Linked DNA regions of Homo sapiens: region 1 is linked to region 2. Evidence: promoter capture Hi-C in 16 types of primary human blood cells and fetal thymus (Javierre and others, 2016). All regions are on one chromosome and are shown on one strand. The core of a region is centred on a gene start or on the middle of the fragment in contact, and the rest is flanking DNA. Distances in the headings are between cores, read along the strand shown.

What was found. The method cuts DNA at HindIII sites, captures the fragments that hold promoters and counts their contacts. A CHiCAGO score of 5 or more calls a contact.
Region 1: the fragment with the promoter of FAM222A here is called in contact with the fragment with the promoter of PPP1CC in region 2 in 1 of 17 cell types (fetal thymus); the score reaches 5.1 in fetal thymus.

Annotation. Positions count from the first base shown.
Region 1 is chr12:109,710,881-109,715,411 of GRCh38, reverse strand. It overlaps FAM222A (family with sequence similarity 222 member A), which reads right to left and starts at 1,587. Exons shown (of 3, transcript NM_032829.3): 1 at 515-1,587. RefSeq lists silencers at 1,447-1,496, 1,527-1,856 and an enhancer at 2,562-3,125. The HindIII fragment of the contact is 3,633 bases long and covers 1-2,490 here.
Region 2 is chr12:110,740,862-110,745,495 of GRCh38, reverse strand. It overlaps PPP1CC (protein phosphatase 1 catalytic subunit gamma), which reads left to right and starts at 2,605. Exons shown (of 7, transcript NM_002710.4): 1 at 2,605-2,843. The coding sequence starts at 2,789. RefSeq lists enhancers at 1,026-1,610, 2,372-2,880 and silencers at 2,375-2,514, 2,675-2,734. The HindIII fragment of the contact is 5,862 bases long and covers 1-3,873 here.

The sequences.
Region 1 (4,531 bases), core at 338-2,837, 1.0 Mb after region 2:
GCGAGTTATTTGTGGGAACGTGGTTTGAACGAGGGCTCTAAGGTCTAGCCCCATGGGGCACAATTCTCAAACGTGGCCACCTGCGTTTCTGGAACCCCAAATCCCCCTCTGAGGTGATTTCCCTTGAAGATCTCAGAGGCTGCTCGGGAGACCCTCAACGTTTTCCCATCCTGGGTGCCCCCCACCCCCCAGCCCTTCCAAGACACTGGAGTTCCCGGGGAATTTTCGGATGACACAGCCAATACCTTTGTTAGCTTTACGGGTGGGGTGACCTTTCCTCTCTGGCAACCAACCCGCCCAGGGTCCCGCGGAATCCGAATGGGCCCCCCAACCTCCACTCCCATCGGCTGGCCCATCTGAACAAGTTGTGTTTGGAGGGAGGAAAGGGGCGGACAAGGGTTATCTCTGCTTCAGGACCCCCAACAGCCTAGGACCCCTTCTGTCCAATCCTGGCTGCCCGGACGCCAGGGGGTGCCCCCAGCTCCAGCGCAGAACCCCGCCCCGCACAACTCACCGGATCAGCCAGGCCGTCGAAGGGCACCAGGTCTCAGCTACCACGACGCTCCGCTCGACGGGTCGCAGCCATGCAGGAGTGGCAGAGGCTGCCTGACGAAGCCCTCCTTGGGGGTCGATGCCTCTCTCCGGGTGGGAAGGGGCGCTGTCGGTGAGGGCTATCCTGGCGCCGGCCTGCGCCGTCCGAAGTCGGGGGGGAGGGGAGGTCTCCGTTCAGCAGGGGTCACGCCCGCCCCGGACGGGGGCCGCGCGGGCGCTCAGGCGACGCATCTTCGCCGGGGCCCGTGATCGCCACGTCCGGCGGGCGGCGCTGCGCCTCCCCTCGGGGCCCCGCTCAAGGCTGCAGCTCGGCCCGCGCCGCTCCCAGGGCGCCCTCTCCGCCCGCGCTGGGAGCCCGGCGGCCGCGGCCCCTTTCGCCAGCCCCAGCTGCAGCCTGTCTTTGTTGCTTCCTCTCGCTCGCCCGCCCGCCCGCGGCTTGCAGCCCCCGGGTTCGCCCCGAGGTGGAGGGATTGTCTCCTTCGGGGGTTGCACGCACCCGCAGCGGCCCCGGCTCCTCGCCGGACATACACCGGCCCCTGCAGGTTGCAAAGAACAGCGGCGAGAATGCACCGGCCCCTCCTCCTCCTGCTCTGAGCCCCGGGTGTGGGGGGAGGGGAAGCCGGCGAACAGCGGCGGCGGCAGCGGCGGCGGCGGCGGCAGCGGGCGACGCAAGCTCGGATGCAGCCTCGGGGGCCTCGGCGCTGAGAAACAGCCGATCCCAGTGGCGCAGGACGGACACGAGGACGGCCCGGGGGACTGTGCACCGGGTGTGCGAGCTCGCAAGCCGCAGCAGGGGCCGCGCGCGCTGGGCTCTCACGCGCCCATGGCCCCGGGCGGCGCGCGGGGGCTCCCGGGGCCGCAGCCTCGCGCCGTCTGGCGCGCGCCGGCGCCTCGCCTGGTCTCAGGCCCGGGTGCCGCGCGCCGCGCCCCACAGGCGCCGGGCCCGGCTGTCCGCCTCCCCCGGCCGGCGCGCGCAGCCTCTCCGCGGAGCAGCCGGCCAGGCAGTCCTGCCCGCTGCTCCGCTCTGGCCCGACTGACAGGCGCGAGCGCCGGCAGCAGCCCCCGCGTCTCGTCCCCCGCCCGCCCCCCGCGGCCCAGCCCAATCAGCGGCGGCTGAGAGGCGGTTACCAGGGTGACGCGGCACCGCGTCCTGCGAGGGGCGGAGCCGGGGGCCGCCACGCGCGCTTTTCGCGGCAAAATTCAAAGGCCGGCAGGGCGGCTCTCCAACCTCCTCCCCCAAGCAGGGACGAGGCGGAACTTGCCTCGCGAGGACTGCAACTCCCGGCATGCTGCGCGCCGGCGCCGGGTGGAGGGGCCCCGACTGGGGGCGCAGGGCGTGCTGGTTTTTGTAGTCCCACTAGGGGTGGCAAAACCAGTGTCATTTACTGATCACATATTTGGGACAAGGCACTGTATAAGTGCATTATCGGCATTATTTCATTTAATCTTGGCAAAAACCAACCTCATGAGGAATTTGTTAAAAATAACAACTATAGCTAACACTTATGTAGCAAAGTATTTTATCTAATCCTCACAACACCGTGTGAGTGGGTATTACTATCACCCCCATTTTACAGATGAGAAAACTGATACGGTAGGTACTATTATTATACTTCCAACTTACAGAGGAAACTGAGGTAAGGAGATGTGAAGTGACATGGTCCTGGATGTTTTTGTCCTAAGGCTTATTTTTGGCAGCGATGTGTTTTTGGCATCACAGTTGTGATCTGTGGAGCGCTAACTATATAACCCAGCACAGCGCTGAGCAATTTGCAAGCTACACCTTCTAGACGTACCCCACGCCCACAGGAGACAGGCACTAGCCTACTCCCCCACTTAATAGATAGGGAAACTGAGGCATAGTTTCACATCAACCTGGGGTTCAAATATGAATCTATCAAACTATACTGTGCTTTCCCTTTTACTTTTAAAGAAGCTTCCTGGGTTCTCACAGCCCATGGGCGGCCCGTCTAGCAGTCTCATTTACAGATGGGGAAATTGAGTCCTGGGTGGGGCAGTTCCCTCAGTTGCTGTGTGTCCATCACACAGCACTGTAGGAAGCCAGCTTTCCGGGATAATAACAAAGATCCCCACAGAAATGCAGAGCAGCAGTCAGACCCCCCACCCCTCAGGCTATGCCCGTGTGATACCTGGAGTCCCACCGAAACTGGGTGGGATTGCAGCCCTGCCCTTGCTGGTTGTTGGTCTTGGCCATTTACCTTCACGGGTCTGCGCCTCAGTTTCTTGTCTGTGAAATGGGGGGCATCATAATTCCTACCTTACAGCGTAGATTTGAGGGCAAAATGAATTCTTGCATGTAAAGGACTCAAAACACACATTAAGTGCTCAATAAATGCCCTCTGTACTCACCCGGGCTGGAGGGCTTTGGAGACCCTGGGGAGCGTATCCAGCGGACGGGCTGATTATAGACGGGCCCTAGCCTACTTCCAGGAGCCAACCCACCCCGCCGGGAGAGGCGCCCGCGGCGGACCTCCAGGGCCGGCCCAAGTGGGTCACCCGCCGCCTTATCTAGGACAGGAGCTGGCCCTGTTTCAGGCCTCTAAGCGGCTGCTCGGCGCGCTGTTCCCAGCAGCTCCGCTCTATTTCTCCGCGGCCGCCCCCATCTCCTCCCCTTCCCTCCCCAGGCTGAAGGTGGGGGTGGGGATTTACCTGGAAATGTGTTATGCCTCCAGCTGCTTCCCGCTCGGGCCAGCAGCCAGGGCTGCGGGGACGTCAGGGAGGGCGGCCGGGGCGACTGGATGGGTGGACCCAGCGTGTGGACAGGTGGGGAGACCAGACTTCAGCTGAGGACAGGGCGAGGGACAGTAACAAGCAAACCCTGGGAAATGAGAGAGATCGCGAAGAGGAGAAGAAGGCAGCAGTTCGCACCACAGCCTGTCAAAAGTTTGGGATTTTTTTCATTGTAGGTCACCATGACTTCACACCTACTGTGTGTCAGGCATGGGCTCACTGCTATTTATCTCACATAACTCCTTTTACCCTCGCAGAAACCCTATAAGGTATATACGATCACTATGCACATCCTACAGCAGAGGAAGGCCACATGACTTACCCAAGGTCACACAAATGACAGAACCAAAGTCCAGAGCCCTGACGTTGATTTATTGCACCTTGTGGCAGCCACTGTCTGACCGTGTGCAACCTTGAGGGGAGTTTCTTCTCTTCTCTGGACCTCAGTTTCCCCTGCCATGAAATGGAGGGTAGGACCCAAACCCCAGCCCTACCAATCAGACTCTCCTTGGTGGGACAGCAGTTTCCAAAGCTCCTATGTGGTTCCTGATACAGCCAGGGCTGACAACCCCAGGTCGAGAAGATCTCAAAAGACCCCTCCATCTCTGAAGTTCTATGAGTCCACGATGTGCTCATGGTGGAATTTCCGACAGCAGCAGGCTCCAAGGCAGCTGTCCAGCAGGAGAGGTCAGAGCCTTCCAGATGCCTGTCGCTCCCCTCCAGGCAGGTGAATGCCCCGTAAGATGCTCTGCCCCACTCCCCACACTCCCAGTGCCCCCCTACCCCATATGCCCATCTCCCTGAGATCAGACCCTCGTGCCTTTGCTCTTGGTCGACTCCAATAACTGCATTATGTGATTGGAGACAGTGTCAAGATGGATTTGCCACGGTCCATAAAACCACCAGGCAGGCCAGCCCCGGAACACTGGCTCTGGCCAGGGGTCCGACAGGCCCTGAGGGGGCAGGGGGCAGAGGGCATCTCATCTCTCACTGTTCTTGTTTGCCTCCCACACACCAACCTTGCTGAAATACCTACAAATCCTTGCACGTGCCTCTCTCACCTCCAGGTCATTGCTTATGCTGTTCCTTCTACCTAGAATGCCCTCCCTCCAGGTAGCTAACTCTTGCTCCTCCTTCAGAGTTCAGCCAAAGTGCTGCCTCCTCCAGGAAGCCTTCCCTGACTACCCTGCTCCAGGCTGGAGCACTTCCCCCTTCACAGATGTGTCCA
Region 2 (4,634 bases), core at 1,356-3,855:
ATTTGGCCACAGCCACTCTCTTCTAATCATCAGCTCCCCATCATCTTCAGCAGCCCCTAAGAAAGCTCTGTAGAGCCAGGAAAGACAGTTTGAAAAGTGCACTTTAATCCACTCTCCTCATTTGACAGATAGGCAAACTGAGGCCTAGAGAGGGGAAGGGACATTCCATTTATTAGGCTGTATCCTTTCTGACAGGATGCTTATATCAACTCATCTTTGGAAAGCCACTGGTGCTGATAATGGCAGAAAAAGGCGAATAGGGAATCAGTGCTTTCCTCCACCGGCTATTTGCTGGTTCCTGGGAGCTGTGAGGGCCCACCCTGGTGAGCTATGCCATGCTCAGGCTCAGAGCCAGCTAATCACTTAGGCATGTGCCAGCAGAACTGAACTCTGGAGGGGAGTTGCCCAGCAGAAAACAACCTGGGGACAGAGGCTCTCCCCATGTCCCAGCTCAGTCTGAAGTCCTCCTCCAGCCCTGATGATGTTGCAAGAGGTTAACACACCTGCCATTTTGCATGAGGAAAATTATGGCACTCGTATTGTGGGCAGAGACACAATTCAGTCATTCCACTGGGTTCCAAATTGATATGTGCCCAGTATGTGCCAGGGATGTGAACACTGCTGGGGGTTCACTGCCGGGTTTTACTGAATATGAACGAGGGCTGTGGTTTCAGGCTGTCCTGAGTTCCAGCCCTGACTCTGTAACTTCCTGGCTGTGTGACCTTCAGCAACCACCCTAGCCTCTCTGTGCCTCACTTTCTTCATCTGTAAATGGGGATGATAGGAATAGGACATAATTCCTAGGATTATCTTGGGGATTCAATGAGATCATTTTTTGGCACATACTAAGAAATGAACACAGTAGCATTTTTTTTCTTGTTTATTTTTCTCCACTGCACTTATCAGAAGCTGATATTTTTATTTGCATCTTTGCTTACCATCTGACTGACTAAATGACTCTCCATAGAAAAAAGCCTTGTCTGTCTTGATCACCCCTGCTTCCCTGTCTAGAACAATGCCTGGCACAGAGTGGGTACTCCATAAATATTTGTCTGCTGAATGAATTGCTGTCTTTCATATTTCTACCCTAAATGCCATTCCGATGATGCACCCTGCCCTGGAGTAGCCCAAAGTCCTGTGGACTCCAGCAAGAGCCCCCCCTGACCTCCATAGCCAGATGTTCACAGCAGCGCTGGGCACCAACTCCGAATGTCACCAACTGGGCTCATTGCCTTGGCCTGACAAATGGCACTTATGTGACTTCTGGTGGACAGAGCTGTAGCAGGGGAAAGTGAGTTAGTGCCTGAGGAAAGTGGATCGATAGGCTGAGTTCTGAAACTCAAGGGCCCTGCACCAGTAGCGAGGGGGCCCAAGTAAGGGGACATGGAGCCCGCACCCTGAGGACATTGCTTTGGAAGAGGATGCCTGGGTGGTGCAATTACCTCGTGGCATACTGAGATGGGGATTCGTGCATCCTGCACGCCTTGGGAAACAAAATGAATTTCTCGGAGAGAGGGGGCTTTGCAAAATGTAAAGCGCTGCAGGAAGCAACGTACATGGAAAGGTCAGGAAAGAGAGCCGATCTGTTTGCTGAGTGTGGGCTGTACTTCCAAACCCAGCCAAAGTCGACGCGCAGCCCCTGGAGGTGGCACAGTTTGGGGGCCCCTTGGATAGGAGTGCCCTCGGGGAGGCTGGGAAGCCAGAGAGGAATGGGCCAAAGTTTCTTCGGGTGTCTGCAGAACCCAGGACCGCCCGCGCAGCTTGCATCTTCTCTTCCCGCCCCCGGCCTGCACGCGTGAAATCTGCAAATTCCCCTTTTAACTGCTGCACGCGCTCGTTCAACTTTGCCCTGGCTAGAATCGGGATAACCGTCCCGATGATTACATAACTTTCCGAGTTCAGGGAAGATAAATCCAAGGGACAGAAATGATAAAATTTTCTTTGAGTATGGATTTTTTACCCCTAAAGTTACAGAAGTGCACAAAAAATATATATACAAATACCCATATACCCACCACTCACAATGAGTTAACTGTTACATTTTGACTTATCTGAAAGAGGGTTTTTTCTTTTTAGTTACCAAATAAACCTTTCTCTTGTCCCAAGTTCCAGTATATCTGAATCCAAAATAAGTCAACCTTCTTTTCTTTATTATTCTTTTCCATCCTCACCCCAGATTTATCTTAAAGGGTAAGTTCCAGGACCCCCGAAATCCCTCGGTGAGCTCCCACCTGTCCAGGTCTGCAAACATCTAGACTCAATGCACAAGATCCGGCGATGGCCGCAACCGGCGGTGTGCACAGCTGCATTTCCTCCCCCAGCCCCAACTCCCGCGTGCAACTTTGCAACTCTCGCTCGGGCCCGGCATTGGGGGCGGGCCTATTTACTCGGCCCGTTTGGCGGAAGGATCCCATGCGGGGACGCGGTTGCGCTCAGCCATCTGCGCCCCGCCCAGCGCCCGGGCCCCGCCCCCTCCAGCGCCCGGGCCCCGCCCCCTCCCGCGCCCCCTATGGCCCATAAAGAAGTCCCGGCCGGGCCGCTGCACTCCCCGCGCGCATCCGTGCGCCGCCCGAGGCTGTCTAAGGAGTCGGCGGCCATTTTGTTCTTCTCGTGGTTCCAGTGGGGAGAGAAGGAGGAAGTAGGGAGCGGGGTGGCAGGGGGGGGACCCGCCGCGGCTGCTGCCACCGCCGCCACCACCGCCTCTGCTCGTGGCGTGGGAAAGGAGGTGTGAGTCCCGGGCGCGAGCCGGCGGCGGCGCCGCTGCGGGAGGGTCGGCGGTGGGAAGGCGATGGCGGATTTAGATAAACTCAACATCGACAGCATTATCCAACGGCTGCTGGAAGGTAAGGGGGGCGGCGGGCGGCTGAAGGGGGAGGCGGGCCTGAGGGCGGCAGGCGGCCCCGGGGGCTCGAGGGAGGGGAGTTGGGAGGCCGGTTGGGCTTGCAGCACCGTGGGGAGTGAGCTCCTCGAGTTGGCCCACGGGCCGGGGACTGCAGCCGGAGGGAGGCCAGCCCGGGATTCCCAACTTGTCGCCAGCTGCGGACCCTCCAGGCTCCGCTCATTCATTGCACGAGGATGCAGGCTTCCTCCCGGCCGTGGAATTTGAAAACTCCGCTCCCCACCCCCACGTTTCCCGCCCCTACCCGTTTGCCCCCGCGCACTGGACGGGTCTTTGGAGCGATGGTTGGGGATCCCAGTCCAGCCTCCTGGACGACGTGTGCCGTGCTGTGCGAGATGGACTTTTCGGTGCTCGTCCTCTCGGAAGGCAGTTTGATGAGGGCATGAGTTCCGCCGGGTTTGGGGGCTCTTTTCCTGCTTGCTTTTATTTTTATTTTTCGTGGTTCTGGGGTCTTGGGGGGCCCATTTCTTGTTACTTGGTAACAAGCGTTCATGTCTCAAGAGGTGTGAGAACCTGTCTTCGCCTGCCCTCCAAATCCTTTTAAGTTGTTCTAATCTTGGAGAGGTCTCCGCGCTCTTTTCCTGAGCGTGCATCTGAAGAGGAAGCCAACGAGGCTGACGCTATCATTATCTTTCCAATGTGCCAGGCTCTGTCTTAAGCACTTTGCGTCCATGAATTATTACTGTAATCATAACTGACGCTTCTAAAGCGCTTACTGTGTGTCAGGCATTCTTTGAGCACTTAAGACAGATTTCATTTAATTCTCCCACCCATTGCAAGATATTTGCAATTTTTTTTGTTTTTGTTATTTTACAGAAGAAACTGAGATGAAGTCACTTAACCAAGGTCACACAGTTAGTGACAGTTGGATTTCAAATCCACATAGCCGGGAGCTAGAACCCTCTACAGACAACACTGTCACCTTATGTAGGAAGGAAGGTGGCCAGTGGTTAAGTAAAGGTTAATAGAAAGCTTTAAATTTCGGCTCATCTAAGACTTGTGAGGTGCCTGGCAATTGATTCATGTTGATGTGGGAGAGGGGCGAGGTTCAGCTTTTAAAGACGGAAGCTGAAATGAGCTGCTTTCAGATTCAAGGGCATGTCAACGGATGCTAACATCTTATCCAAGACTTTGTAAGAATTCAGTCATATCCCCTAACTTGGACACTTCATAATGGGAACTTGGCAGTTTCAACTGCTTTTTGCCTTTATACAGTCCTAAAATATTGTTGGACTATAAATGCTGTGAGTGGTGGAGTCGAGGGCATGAACAGTTGGACAGCTCTGGTGTTAGAATTTACAGATCTTTTAAAGTAAGTTATTAAAATGAAGCTCCTGAAAATATCTCGTCCTTTTCTTAATCTGTGCATTCTTTCCTTTTATGCTGTCTTTAAAAAAAAAACAACAAAAAAAACACTAAATGTCATTAAGGACCCCTGAAATGCTCTTGAAATGTTATTGCAGGTGAAAACCTTGTATTGTAGGTGAAAACCTTGTCATTCTTTTAATGCCAGGTATTTATATAAGAACCATACTTTTTCATACTAGTTAATATAGTTCTTTAATTTATTCGAGGCAGCAGTTGGTCAGAAACTGATTAAAATAGTTTGCTGTAAGAAAGGAACTTTTTGTTAAATATTTTCTTTCTAAATTTTAAAATTCTGCTTATCTCTGCAGGGATATGTGTGGCTTTATTTCTCTGAGGAAACAGGAAAAGTTGGAATTTGCATGGATTA